Regions from separate parts of the Homo sapiens genome. Here region 2 is linked to region 1. The links are contacts of gene promoters, found by promoter capture Hi-C in blood cells and fetal thymus (Javierre and others, 2016). All regions are on one chromosome and are shown on one strand. The core of a region is centred on a gene start or on the middle of the fragment in contact, and the rest is flanking DNA. Distances in the headings are between cores, read along the strand shown. Region 1 holds the start of INTS6L (integrator complex subunit 6 like). Region 2 holds the start of RBMX (RNA binding motif protein X-linked).

Region 1 (6,661 bases), core at 3,856-6,355:
TGCAATCAACAAAGGACATACAGAACACACCATTGGACTTGGCCAGCCAGAAGTAGGCCATTGGGGACCTCTGGGCAGTTTCCATGGAGTGCAGGGAAAGAAACCAGATTACATGGGCTTGAGGAGACACAGGGTGGTGGAGAAACCAGACAGGGAGATTTTACTGCCCTCTAAACCATGAAAGGTGGGCTTTGGGAGGGAGTAGTAACCAGGTTAAGTAAGGTCTTTTTGTCAAGATGTAGTAATTAGGGCCAGGCCTGGTGGCTTATGTCTATAATCCCAGCATTTTGGGAGGCTGAGTTGGGATGATTGGTCGCATCCAGGAGTTCAAGACCAGCCTGGGCAACATAGTGAGACCCCATCTCTATAAAAAAAATTAAACATTAGCCAGGCATGGTGGCAAGCACCTGTAGTCCCAACTACACAGGAGGCTGAGGTGGGAGGATCACTTGAGCCAGAGAGGTTGAGGTTCTAGTGAGTTGTGATCACACCACTGTACTCTAGCCTGGGTGACAGAGTGTGACCCTGTCTCAAAAATAAAAATAAAAATATAGTGATTAGGGACTGCTTAAAGACAAGAGGTGACAAAACTTAGGAGAGTGAAAAATCAAACTGACTCTCACCAAAACAAAGCATCAGCTGTATGGTGGTGGACCACACCACAACATAAAATGTAAACATGGGGCAAAGTCTGTGGACATTTATGTGAACAGAATGAAGGCCAGGAGAGCAGTATATGAAGAGCAAGGACTTGAAGAGGAAAGAGGAAACTCTTTTCAAGAGCTCACAAGTTGAAAAAAAGTGAGAAAATTGAAAAGAAGATAGGATGGTTAATGCAGGCCATAGAGGCTGAAATTTGGGAGCAGTTGGAAAGAGGATTTGACTGAAGGAGACAAACAGTGAGCAGTGGCCCCAGAAAGAGCCATTTCATAAGGAAGCATGAGTAGAACAAAAGGGAAGTTGCCAGGGTTCTGGGTAAGCAGTAAGGACTGTCAGTTCAATGCTTTGGCCTGAAGGGGCCTCCTGGAGCCCAAATCCAAATGGCCCGGGATCCACAGGGACAGGGGAGCTGGGTCTACCACCCTGCTCCCATGAAAGATGGCAGGCAGGGGGCAACACAGGAGGGCTGGGTAACCCTAGGAAAGGAGCTACAGGATAATACCCCAAGCACCTGGAAAGATGATGAAAGAATGAAAACCACAGCACATTTGACAATTTCTTTCAATAACCATTTATGGAGCAAGTACTTTGCACCAGGCATTGGTTATAGGCTCTAGCTGCTCTCAAGGAGTTTACATTCTAGTGCAAGAAACAAACCCATGGCAGAAATAACCTATAACACGAAGAGGCTGATGTTCTGTAGCAGAGAAAGATGTAGAAAGGGCTTTGTATGGTTTAGTGTTGATGTATGCCAAAGAAACACAGTGGAGAAGTCTACACAATTTCTAGCATAATACAGAACTTACTTTCCTCCAGGAAGTGATGAAGAGAAGGTTCTTGGTGACAGCTTGGGGATTGGTTTAATCTGAATAAGCCCATAAATCCGTTACATCATTTTTGTTTTTGTTTTTTGTTTTTTTTTTGTATATTGCCATTTTTGTAGTTTATACTGAGACACAAATATTTTTCAATTCTATGTTGACATCATTTCAATTCCATTTGCATTTATGCCAGAAAAAATCAATAACATGTCTTGTTAGAAAAAAAAAAAAATTAAAAGGCATTCACCTGCATGGGGAGAATATCTTGTCCCTAGAAGGTCACTCTGTGGCACCATGCATATCCTTGACCACAGGAGCATTGTGTGACTGAGACTATTTGTGTTTCACTAATGCTGGTAAGCCGTTTTTGAAAATTGTCTCAGTAATATTCAAGTTGGAAGAACTTTTTACAATTCTTTTAATGTAATTTTTAACATAGCCCCTTTTCTGATTATAAAAGTAAGGCACACTCATTGAAAAGTTGGGAGGAAAGTATAAAGGAGATATTTTAATGTCATCTTAAAATACCATTTGTAAACTGGGGTATATCATGGCTCAGCAGTCCTTATTCTCCTCTCTCATACACACATACACATATAGATATTCACAAAATAAAATATAAACTCCTCATAGGAAATCTTGTAATTCTTCAACCAAAGGCTAGTCTAAGCAACAAGTCAACCCAATGCATTTATTCGGTGGGCTGAAAGTTTGTACAGTATTACTCAAAATTGACTTTAACAGGCAGGGCACGGTGGCTCACACCTGTAAACCCAGCAATTTGGGAGGCCGAGGTGGGTGGATCGCTTGAAGTCAGGAGTTTGAGACCAGCCTGGCCAACATGGTGAAACTCCATCTCTACTCAAAATATAAAAATTAGCTGAGCATGGTAGCACATGCCTCTAGTACCAGCTACTCAGGAGGCTGAGGCAGGAGAATCGCTTTAAGCTGGGAGGCAGAGGTTGCAGTGAGCCGAGATCATGCCACTGTACTGCAGTCTGGGCGACAGAGCAAGATTCCATCTCATAAAAACTGTGAACTAGGCAAAGTTTGTTTCCAGGAAATAATCACATCCCCATCTTAATAATCCCATCCCTATCTAATATTAGGCACAATTCTTAGCTGGCCCCATGATCTCCAATCCTTGGTGTTACATCCTGTATAATATTCTTTCCTTGAGTGTGGGTGGGACCTGTGACTTGCTTCTAGTTGAGATTATCTACATTACATAAGGCTCCATCTTGGAGTAAGAGATTTCTCTGCTGGCCCTGAAGTAGCAGCTATGTTGTGAACAGCCAATGGAGAAAGCCATATGGCAGAGACCTGCAACAGAAGGTGGACCTGAAGGTGGCCTCTGGTCACCAGCAACAGCCCCAAGGAAATGAATTCTGCCAGAAATCTGAATGAGCCTGGAAGCCAGTTCTTTCCCAGGTGAACCTCCAGATGAAAACAGCCTGGCTGACACGTTGACTGCAGACTTATGAGACTAAGTAGAGAACCCAGGTAAACTTAGACCTCTGACTCATGGAAACTGTGAGATAGTAAATGCTTGTGTTGTTTTAAGCCACTAAATTTGTAATAATTTGTTAAACAGCAGTAGAAAACTAACACACTGCCCCCAACAGTCCTATATTTTTTGTACCCTAGCCCATGTAGGCATTGCCCTTCTACACTGACATTTGTATCGGAATGGAAATGGGGGCTTCTAGTATCTTTTTCATCCTTATTTCTTCATTAATTCCCTACTTTCCACCAGAATGGCCTGAAATGCACCATACATAGTACTATCTTTGGCTGAGTTTTTGTTCATATCATTCCTTCCAACCCAGATTCCCTCTCTTCCCTTTTTGTGCCTTGTTCGTGAAATCCTATGAATTTCTAGACTGGACCATTGTTTCCATAGCACTTTTTAACTTGCATCCTTGTTTGTCCCTGATTCATATACTGCCATATGACTTCTTTTAAAATCGTATTTCTCTGAGAATGTTATTGAATGTGCATATATAATATATGAAACATATACACAGAACATACATATATATATAGAGAGAGAGAGAGAGAGAGAGAGTGTATATAAAATATATAAAATACTTTTTTGAGATGTTATCTCATTCTGTTGCCCAGGCTGGAGTGCAGTGGTGTGATCTCAGTTCACTGCAACCTCCGTCTCCTGGGTTGAAGTGATTCTCCTGCCTCAGCCTCCCAAGTAGCTGGGACTACAGGCGCCTGCTCCCATGCCCGGCTAATTTTTGTATTTTTAGTAGAGACGGGGGTTTCACCATGTTGGCCAGGCTGGTCTCAAACTCCTGCCCTCAAATGATCCACCCACCTCGGCCTCCCAAAGTGCTGGAATTACAGGCATGAGCCACTGCGCCTGGCCAAAATATATAAAATATTATGTATGTATATGTCATCATCTCTCCTCAATGAAACTGCAAACTCATTGAAGTCCTGGATTCCACATTGTCAATAGTAATTGCCAGGAATACACAAGTCCAATTTTTAAAATTGTGTCATATGAAGTAGTCAATCAAGTGTGGTTGGCCACTTACTGAGTCTCTTCACAGAGCCAGACCTGAGAGTATCCGTAATTGTTACCCTAACCTCAGGGAGCTGCATTTTCCTCTACTGAAAATTGAATACAATGCCATCTGCCATAATTAATTCAAAGATTAAACAAGGCTACCGTGGGTGCCTGGCTCTTCATAGGCACTCAATAAATGTGAGTTGAGAGCCTGCCCCTGTGGTCCCAGCTACTTGAGAGGCTGAGATGGGAGGATCGCTTAAGCCCAGGAGCTGGACGCTGCAGGCAGCTATGATGGGGCCACTGCACTCCAGCCTGGGCGATCAAGCGAGATCCTCTTTATTTATTTATAAAAATAAATAAATAAATAAATATGTGAGTTGAATCACAATCTAGGTTTGCAAACCTCCATGTGTAAAGGCTGCGCAGAGGGAACAGTGGTGGAATTATCACAGGCAGGCCAATGTTTCAAAGAGCTTAGTGAAACTGAAGAAGCTTGTGCATACAAAAGGCCAGTTTAGGTAACTGTAACTGTGTTTAAGCTTTAGTTTCCTTTCTAAGTAGATATATGTGGAATGCAAGGCCAGCAACCAACTCACAAATACTGATCAAGACGGGGGAGGGATCTAAAGGAATGTGAGTACGTCCTGCCAGGAAAGAAGTTTGCTGCTTCTGAAATATTTTCGTCTTCGCCACTGGCAGGATTGATCGATTGCAGTTAGCGAAGAATTTTCTGTGCAAACTGTCCAAGCATCTGCTTCTGTACTTCTGTACAACTGTTGCTCAAATTCACTCTTCTTTTCGAATCACCATCTTTGAAGAGAGACAGAAAAATCCATTTAAACCACCCGAACTAATCATTCGAACTGCTTCCAAGTCCTTTAAAGGAGAATCCTAGCGAGGGTCCGTAACACTTCCCCTTACCCTCTGCCTGGGTTCAAACTTCAACTCCCAGGGTTCGCCCAAGTCCCTCCCCTAGTCCTGTCATCTAATGAATATGCAAATACCACATAATTGGCAGCCAATGGCATGGGTTCTGGTCACATGGTGCCGATGGTAGGTGAGCAGACAGAAGTTGTCAGTGAACAGAGACGGCGCTCAGTCTGGGGCGAGCGCTCTAGTGAGCGCGGACGGATGCTTAGGCAGTAGTCCTGGCAGCGGCAGTAGTGGTGGCAGCAGAAGAGAGGAAGGGGGAGGGCCCCGAGGGCTACACACGCTCACACTTTCAAGTTCCCTTGGAGGGAGAGGAGGTGGGGCTGCAGAAAGAGGAGGCCAGGAGCGGTCCCATCCGTCCCGTCCCGTCCCGTCTCCCCCTCTTCCTCTTGCTCCTTGCTCCCCGGCTCTGCGAGAGTTGAGGGTTCAGGTGGCCGTACGCGGCAGTGAGGGCAAGAGGGCCGGGAGAGTGGGGAGCGGAGGCAGGAGTGCGGGGGAAGATGCCCATCCTGCTGTTCCTCATAGACACGTCCGCCTCTATGAACCAGCGCACTGACCTGGGCACCTCTTATTTGGACATTGCCAAAGGCGCTGTGGAGTTATTCTTGAAGGTAAAGGGAGGGGAGGGGAGAGATGGGGAGAGCTCCCGAGGGATTTCAGGGTGTGGATTGAGGTGCTTCTGTAACGTTTGTATCGCCCTCCCCCCTCCTTTCCTACGCGACCCCCTCCGTCATCCCTTGCCCCGCAGCTGCGCGCCCGGGACCCGGCCAGCCGTGGAGACAGGTACATGCTGGTCACCTACGACGAACCCCCGTACTGCATCAAGGTAAAGGGGCTACGGGTGGGGGGACAGGCGGGAAGCGGGAGCAAGTCGGCGGGGGCTGCTTACCCCCCTGCCCCCGCCTAAGGCGGTCCTGCGTCGCCCGGCGGGGCGGGCGGCGAGGGGGTGCGCAGAGGGCGGGCGGAGTGGTGCCGTCGGCGGCTTCGGAGTAGCTGTCGCGCCTGGGGTCGGGGAGAGGGGACCGGGGAGGAGCAGCCCCGGGGAGAAACCGCAGGAGGGCCGAGCTCGTGGCGCGACAACCGCAGCCGCCTCGGAACATGGCGGACATTTTGCTTTTGTATGAGCCTGCGAGAGGGAGACTGAGGGCGCTGCTGAGATGGAAAGGAGGGAGGGGAGGGAGGAGCGGGGAAGGAGGGCCCGAAACCCGGAGGGAGGCTGCGAGGCGGGCCCGCCCCTTCGAGGCGCACCGCGCGAGGGTCGCCGCGCGGGGGGCCGGACGGAGCCTGCGACTCCGCCCCGAGGTCCTGCCGGCCGGGCGCGCGGGCTTTCCCGGAGCCTGGGCTCCTCCTCTGGCCCCTCCTTCCTCCCCCGGTCTTCCTCCCCCTCCTTGGGCTCTTCGCTGCATCTCCTCCTTCTCCCCCTCTTCCTCCTGGTCCCCTCCCCTTCCTGCTGAGAGCGTGGCAGAGCCAGCCGCCGGCCTTCAAAGACTAGACAACCGCCTTTGCACTCGTTGGCCTCTCACCACCCCCGCGCAATCGGAAATCTGTCCGCGACGCCAGTCTCCCCACCCCCAGACCCGGAGAAAGTCTTTGCGTTTCTGCTCCGGAATTGGCCAGGTTCAGCCCCGCTCTCAGTTACCTTAGCTACTGTTACTGTTTCATTGGAAATTCCAGCGAAGCAACGACACGGAGGGGGACGTGCCAAGTGCGAACCCACAGGGGC
Region 2 (6,599 bases), core at 368-2,867, 1.4 Mb after region 1:
TCTTTCATCAAGAGTACTAAAAAGTAGTTTTCAGAAAAATAAAGTGTTACCCTAGGTCAAATGAAATAACCAAAGTAAATGTGTAAACAGAAAGCTCAGAACTTCTTAGAGGACAAAAATACATTATCATGTCAGACGATCAATGCAATCAAATTCATCATAGCTTATATTTTAATTATAATAGCCCAGCCTGTACTGCCAGACAACTCACCTTCCACTATTCGTCCATATTTGCCAAATACTGCTTCAAGAGCTTTCTCATTTGTTTCCGTATTAAGCCCACCAATGAAGAGCTTTCCTGGGCGATCTGCTTCAACCATGTTTTTTTTTTTTTGGGCCGGTGAGTCTGTTGAAAAGGAATAGTATTACCTCACTGCAAAAAGTTCCTCAAGTTTATTGGACACTTTTACTTTCGCACATTTCTCATATTTTCCACTAAAACCATTGTTCCTTAATAACTAAAGAAAACGATAACGAGCTAAGCCTCAGCCACAGTAGGAAGCAATTTGAACTAAGTAGTTTAGTAACACTGCAATTTACATAAAACTGGTTAAAAGGGCCAACTTAACTTTTACCACTACCCTTGATCACCCTTAGCTGTTCTTAAGCAACAGCTGCTTAACATTTGAAAAAGCAACTTTTAGTTCCAGTCCTCTTGCCTTTGAAAGATTCAATTACTCATCACACCCTTCCTAACGATGGTTTTAAAAGACTCCCAAGGTCACAGGCTAGACACAGGACCTTAACACCAAGCCCTCTTCCAACGACTCCTCTTTTCCTCATTAGGATTCCCTACTAAATCCAAGGAGAAATGTGAAGTTTAAGCCAAGTTATGCCGCCCCTCTTCTTCACCGGCCCCCGCCCTACCGAAAATTCTACTATCCGGCCAAAAAGATAAAAACAAATCGTCAACATCGTTTGCTATTAAGTAACGGAACGCGGACGCACACACTAACACTCGACACTCCGTGACTGCAGCGGAACCTAATTAAAACTCGTCATTAAAAACCGCGTGTAAAAGACAAAATGGCGACACTTGGATTCAACCCAGAACCACCGACACTGGTCAGGGGACTAACTTTTACCACCAACATTGGCTGGGAACATTCAGAGGGCTTCTTCTCCGGGGCCGCCAATGAATACGAAGCCCGCAGCCCGCATGGAAGTCCACATGCCCATCATTAGCGCCAGCGCCATACCAATGCAGGTATCGCCGTGGTGCGGTCGCTCCTCGCCCCGCTCCAGCCTACAAAGCCCCGACCTCCGCTACCAACTCCCGCAGATGGCAGCCAAACTTTCTCGAGAAGCATACAACCAAACGGGCCCCCTCATTTGTTTTCCCTCGACCCCCTCAGCTTTATTTAAATAGGTCGGAACCTTTGGGTTCTTAAAATGGCGCCCGCCACCCCCATCTCCAGGGAGATATAATCCCCAGTCCTAACACGGGGAGAGTGTCACGAAAAACGGACTGAGGAAAGGAGACACGTACCGGAGGGGTGACAATGGGTTCAAGCTCCAACGAGCTCGGCGATAGGGGCTTCCTAGCAGCTCAGCACCAGTGGCGGCTGCCGGGTGCGAGGACCGAACCGCGAAGCCGCTAGCACTACTGCGCAACGAGGGCGAACAAAGGAGACAGCAAACTTTATACTGCCCGGGAACGAGGCTGAAGGACCCGGATGGAAACGGAGCTTAGAATTTGAAACGCAAAGGGAGGGGGGAAGTAGTTCCCAGTCTCCCCATTGGCTGGCTCCTCTGTCATTCACCCTTCTCTCCTCCCTTTTTCCCGGGCCCTCGGTGTTGGGTCGACAGACCTTTCTAACCGTTTTCTCTACCCCCACCCGTTCTTTACAAACGCGCTTTTTTTGCTTTACGCTAAAATGGTGCACAGGCTTCCTTTAATAAAGAACTGAAGTTTATTGAGCGTCCTAGTGGGCCGGGCACGGTGCAAAACTTTACTTTTACTTTTCCATTAACTCTTCTAATTGTCAAAATGTGATGAGGGTAGATACTCCTACTATACCAATTTTGCAGAAACGGAAAACAAAGAAGTTTTGGCAATATAATATATTTTCAAAAATTGTCTTTAACAAGTGTTTTTAGTGAGTGTGGGAATTTCTGATAAATACATGTAAATTTCAGATGAGTAAAAAACGTACAAAACAGCATGCAGATAGTACATTCATATAGAACAATTACTGAGCACCTTGTAAATGGTGGGCTCTGGGCTAGGCCAGGAAAATACAACTCCAGGGAAAAGACAAGAGTCAGGCCTGTGGGTAAGGATGCCGGATTTAATAAATGAAAATACCAGGCCGGGTGCAGTGGCTCACGCCTGTAATCCCAGCACTTTGGGAGGCCAAGGTCGGTGGATCACGAAGTCAGGAGATGGAGACCATCCTGGCTAACACGGTGAAACCCCGTCTCTTTTTAAAAATACAAAAAATTACCCAGGCGTGGTGGCACGCGCCTGTAGTCCCAGCTACTCGGGAGGCTGAGGCAGGAGAATCCGGGAGGCGGAGGTTGCAGTGAGCCAAGACTGCGCCACCGCACTCCAGCCTGGGCAGGCGACAGAGCGAGACTCCGTCTCAAAATAAAAAAGAAAATGCGGGACGCTAATTTATTCTGCGAAGCTGTTAAAAAATTTTAAATAAAAATATGGGACGCGGCCGGGGCGCGGTGGCTCATGCCTGTAATCCTAGCACTTTGGGAGGCCGAGGCGGGCAGATTGCCTGAGCTCAGGGGTTTGAGACCAGCCTGGGCAACATGGTGAAACCCCGTCTCTACTAAAATAAAAATAAAAAATAAAAAAATTAGCCGGGCGTGGCGGCGTGTGCCTGTAGTCCCAGCTACTCGGGAGGCTGAGGCAGGAGAATTGCTTGAACCCAGGAGGCGGCGGTTGCAGTGAGCCAAGATCATACCACTGCACTCCAGCCTGGCAACAGAGCGAGACTTCGTCTAAAAAAAAAAAAAGGGACGCCCAGTTAAGTTTAAATTTCAGATAACGAATACTTTTTTTAGTATAGTATGTCCCAAATCTCATATTTTAAAAATTCGCTGTTTATCGGAAATTCAAATTTAACTGAGCATTCTATATTTCATCTGCCCATCCTACTTGTTGAGGGGGGAAACCAAAAAATTTTTTAATTTTTTTCTTAAAGAAATTGAATACAATTAACAAAAGAATGGCATGTTGTGATTAATGCCAGGGAGGAAATAAACTAGTTGCTTTGATGGACAATATTAGGGAGAACAAATTTGATTAAAACATCAGGGAAGGTCTATGTGAAGAGGTGACTTTGGAGATCAGAGCTGAAGGAAGAAAAGAAACTAGCTATGGGAACAGCTGAGGGAAAAACCTTCAGGAAAAGAAGAGAATAGTAAACACAAAGTAGAGAGGAAGAGCTTGGCATATATCAAGGGACAGAAAGAGGGCCAGGTGACAAGAATATGAGGGGCATGAAATGAGGGAGCCAAGATTGGCAGGACCTTTGAGCCCATTAAATGACTGTAGGGGGTAAGTGTGGGAAAAAGGACACTAATAGGGCTGTGGGAGCAGACCAGAAAGAGAGGATGGTGGCTTGAATCAGGGTGGCGGCAGTGGACACGGGGAGGAAAGAACAATTGTTAGATGAATATGATAGGTATCGTGTTTAATGGTGCTATGGTCTAAATGTTTGTGTCCTCCCCCAAATTCATATGTTGAAATCCTAATACCCAAGGTGATGGCATTAGGAGGCGGGGATTTGGGGAGAAGATTAGGTCACAAAAGGGTAGGGTCCTCATGAATGGGATTAACACTTTTATAAAAGAGGCCCCTGTCCACCATGTGAGAACACAGTGAGGTGCCACTTATATGAACCAGAAAACTGGTGGTGGTGGGCCCTCACCAGACACTGAATATGCTGGCGTCTTTATCTTGGACTTCCCAGCCTACAAAAATGTGAGAAATAAATTTCTGTTGTTTATAAGCCAGCCAGTTTATGGTATTTTGTTATAGTAGCAGGAATGGACTAAGACAGATGGGAAAGGGGTGGGGAAGAATTGCGGAAAAAGAAAATCATTATGGATGACTCCAAGTATCTGGTATTAGTGGGACAGATGGTAACAGTCATTTACCAAAATGGTTTCAGAGGAGCAAGTTTGGGATATAGGGGCAGAAAAATCTGAAGCTCAGAGCATAGATCTGTGCTAAATTATCATCTCAGAGATGTAATAAAAGCCATCAGAATGAATGAAACCACCAAACAAGAGAGTACAGTGGGAAAAGAAGGCCCAAGATCACATAATATGAGCTATTAAAAAAATACATATGGAGACAAAATAACTGGGAGGAAATATGCCAAAATGTTACCAGTTTATCTTGGAGTGGTAGAATTTATGGACAATTTTCACTTTTCTTCTTCTTCTTCTCCTTTTTTTTTTGTTTGTTTTTTTGTTTTTTTGAGAAAGAGGTTCGCTCTCATTGCCCAGGCTAGAGTGCACTGGTGCGATCTTGGGTCACTGCAACCTCTGCCTCCCGGGTTCAAGCGATTCTCCCGTCTCCGCCTCCTGAGTAGCTGGGATTACAGGCATACGCCACCATGCCCGGCTAATTTTGTATTTTTAGTAGAGACAGAGTTTCACCATGTTGGCCAGGCTGGTCTCAAACTCCTGACCTCAGGTGATACGCCCGCCTCGCCCTCCCAAAGTGCTGAGATTACAGGCCTGAGCCACCGTGCCGGGCCTTTTCTTCTTCATAGTTACAATTACCTGCCCATGGTGAATTTTGGTATATGCCAGGCAGGTTGTAGTAAATAATATTCAGGTCACGGGTAAAAGCCCCCAAGGAGCTTCGAAACCAGCTCTGAATTATTAACATTAATAGGGGGAGTAATGCCCAGTAGGACAAGAATATTTGTTCTTGTTTTTTTTCCCCCAGCCAAATAATAAAAAGTAAGGCAAAACTCATGTCCATTTGCCTTTTGAATGAGTTCTGTAAATTATAGACTCTGGAGTCATTTGGGAACTGGCAAAAATGGCTTAAATACCAGGCTCAGCAAGCAGAACTTGTACTCCCAGAGGTAGCCAGGAGAAATCCCTCACCCTGTGGAAGCAGGCACTCTCTTTCTCTGTCTCAAATCCAAAGAGAGACTACAGGACTCTCCTCTAGGCTCTGAGTGTAAATCAGGTCTCCTCTAGTCTAGGGCAAAATGGGGCAGGCTCGACAATAGATAACCCTGTCCTCCTGGGTCTCAAAAAGGAAATGTGCATCCCCGTAGACCAGCTCACTTTGGCCTCTGCAGTTCACACCCAGGAATGTGGGGGAGGAGAAGTAGCATGCTGGCGGTGTTGGATGCAAACACAATTCCCAAGGACCAAAAGCGAGTGGGTGGGGTGGGGATGGCTAAGTTAAAGGAATTGTAGGAGGGGATCAGTTGGCCATATCGTCCAGGACAGAGAGGAAAAAGAAGCAGCTTGTGGGGGAAGCAGAGTGCTACTGACTAGATCTAGAGGGCAATGGAGAGGGGAGCCTTTTTTTTTTTTTTGAGACGGTGTTTCGCTCTTTCGACCAGGCTGGAGTGAAGTGGCGCAATCCCAGCTCACTGCAACCTCCGCCCCCCGGGTTCAAGCGATTCTCCTGTCTCAGCCTCCCAAGTAGCTGGGATTACAGGTGTCCACCACCATGCCAGGCTAATTTTTGTACTTTTAGTAGAGACGGGGTTTCGCCATGTTGGCCAGGCTGGTCTCGAACTCCTGACCTCAGGTGATCCACCCACCTCGGCCTCCCAAAGTGCTGGGATTACAGGCGTGAGCCACTGAGCCTGGCCGAGAGGGGAGCCTTTTTAAGAGGTGGAGTAAGGTAATCAGATTTCATCTTAATGAGATTACTGTGGTTGCAGTCTGGAGACTGTATTGGGGGAGGGAGAGACAGGAAGCAGGGAGACAAATCAGAAGGGTATTGCTGATGTAATGCAGGAGAGGGGGGACGTGGGCGTGCTGAGTGTGAGGGACTCTGGCCAACAGGCAGTTGGATAAGCAGGTCTCACACTGCCCAAAAGTAATTTCCGAATCCCATCCCTCCTCCTCATGGATCTTCTAGATTTTTCTCTTTGCCTCTTTCTATTTACTCTTTTATATTGTCATTAAATGTAGTTGCGTTTTTCTCTTTGCTATAATTTTCCCTTTGCCTTATTATTTTGTCTTCAGATGCCATCTCAGTGATCGACGGATACACTGAGTCAAACGATATTACTTCACTACTAGGTAATCTTGGAATATAATCAGTGCTAAATAAATGGCTGAATTGACTTGCAAGCTCTTCTTATTCTTCATGGCACTTAGCATGAGATGGGTGCATAGGAAGTTTTTATTTTATTTTATTGTATTTTATTTTAATTTAATTTAATTTTATTTTATTTTTGAGATGGAGTCTCACCCTGTCGCCCAGGCTGAAGTGCAGTGGTGCAATCTCAGCTCACTGCAATCCCCACTTCCTGGGTTCAAGCGATTCTCCTGCCTCAGCCTCCTGAGTAGTTGGGATTACAGGTGTGCACCACCACGTCTGGCTAATTTTTTTGTATTTTTAGTAGAGATGGGGTTTCTGGTCTCGAACTCCTGAC

Evidence for each region. Contacts are between HindIII fragments. The CHiCAGO score rates a contact against its expected background, and 5 or more counts as called.
Region 2: a contact is called between the fragment with the promoter of RBMX here and the fragment with the promoter of INTS6L in region 1, in 2 of 17 cell types (fetal thymus and erythroblasts). The highest score is 7.3, in fetal thymus.

The regions. Positions count from the first base shown.
Region 1 is chrX:135,515,555-135,522,215 of GRCh38, forward strand. It overlaps INTS6L (integrator complex subunit 6 like), which reads left to right and starts at 5,106. Exons shown (of 18, transcript NM_001351601.3): 1 at 5,106-5,549; 2 at 5,687-5,764. The coding sequence starts at 5,439. It overlaps INTS6L-AS1 (INTS6L antisense RNA 1), which reads right to left and starts at 5,120. Exons shown (of 2, transcript NR_046740.1): 1 at 5,013-5,120; 2 at 4,529-4,818. RefSeq lists enhancers at 5,260-5,339, 5,370-5,429 and silencers at 5,680-5,949, 6,010-6,209. The HindIII fragment of the contact is 2,771 bases long and covers 4,546-6,661 here.
Region 2 is chrX:136,879,108-136,885,706 of GRCh38, forward strand. It overlaps RBMX (RNA binding motif protein X-linked), which reads right to left and starts at 1,618. Exons shown (of 9, transcript NM_002139.4): 1 at 1,490-1,618; 2 at 212-346; 3 at 1-16. The coding sequence starts at 320. It overlaps SNORD61 (small nucleolar RNA, C/D box 61), which reads right to left and starts at 164; the gene lies at 92-164. RefSeq lists enhancers at 543-1,142, 944-1,003, 1,014-1,473, 1,143-1,741. The HindIII fragment of the contact is 13,799 bases long and covers 1-6,599 here.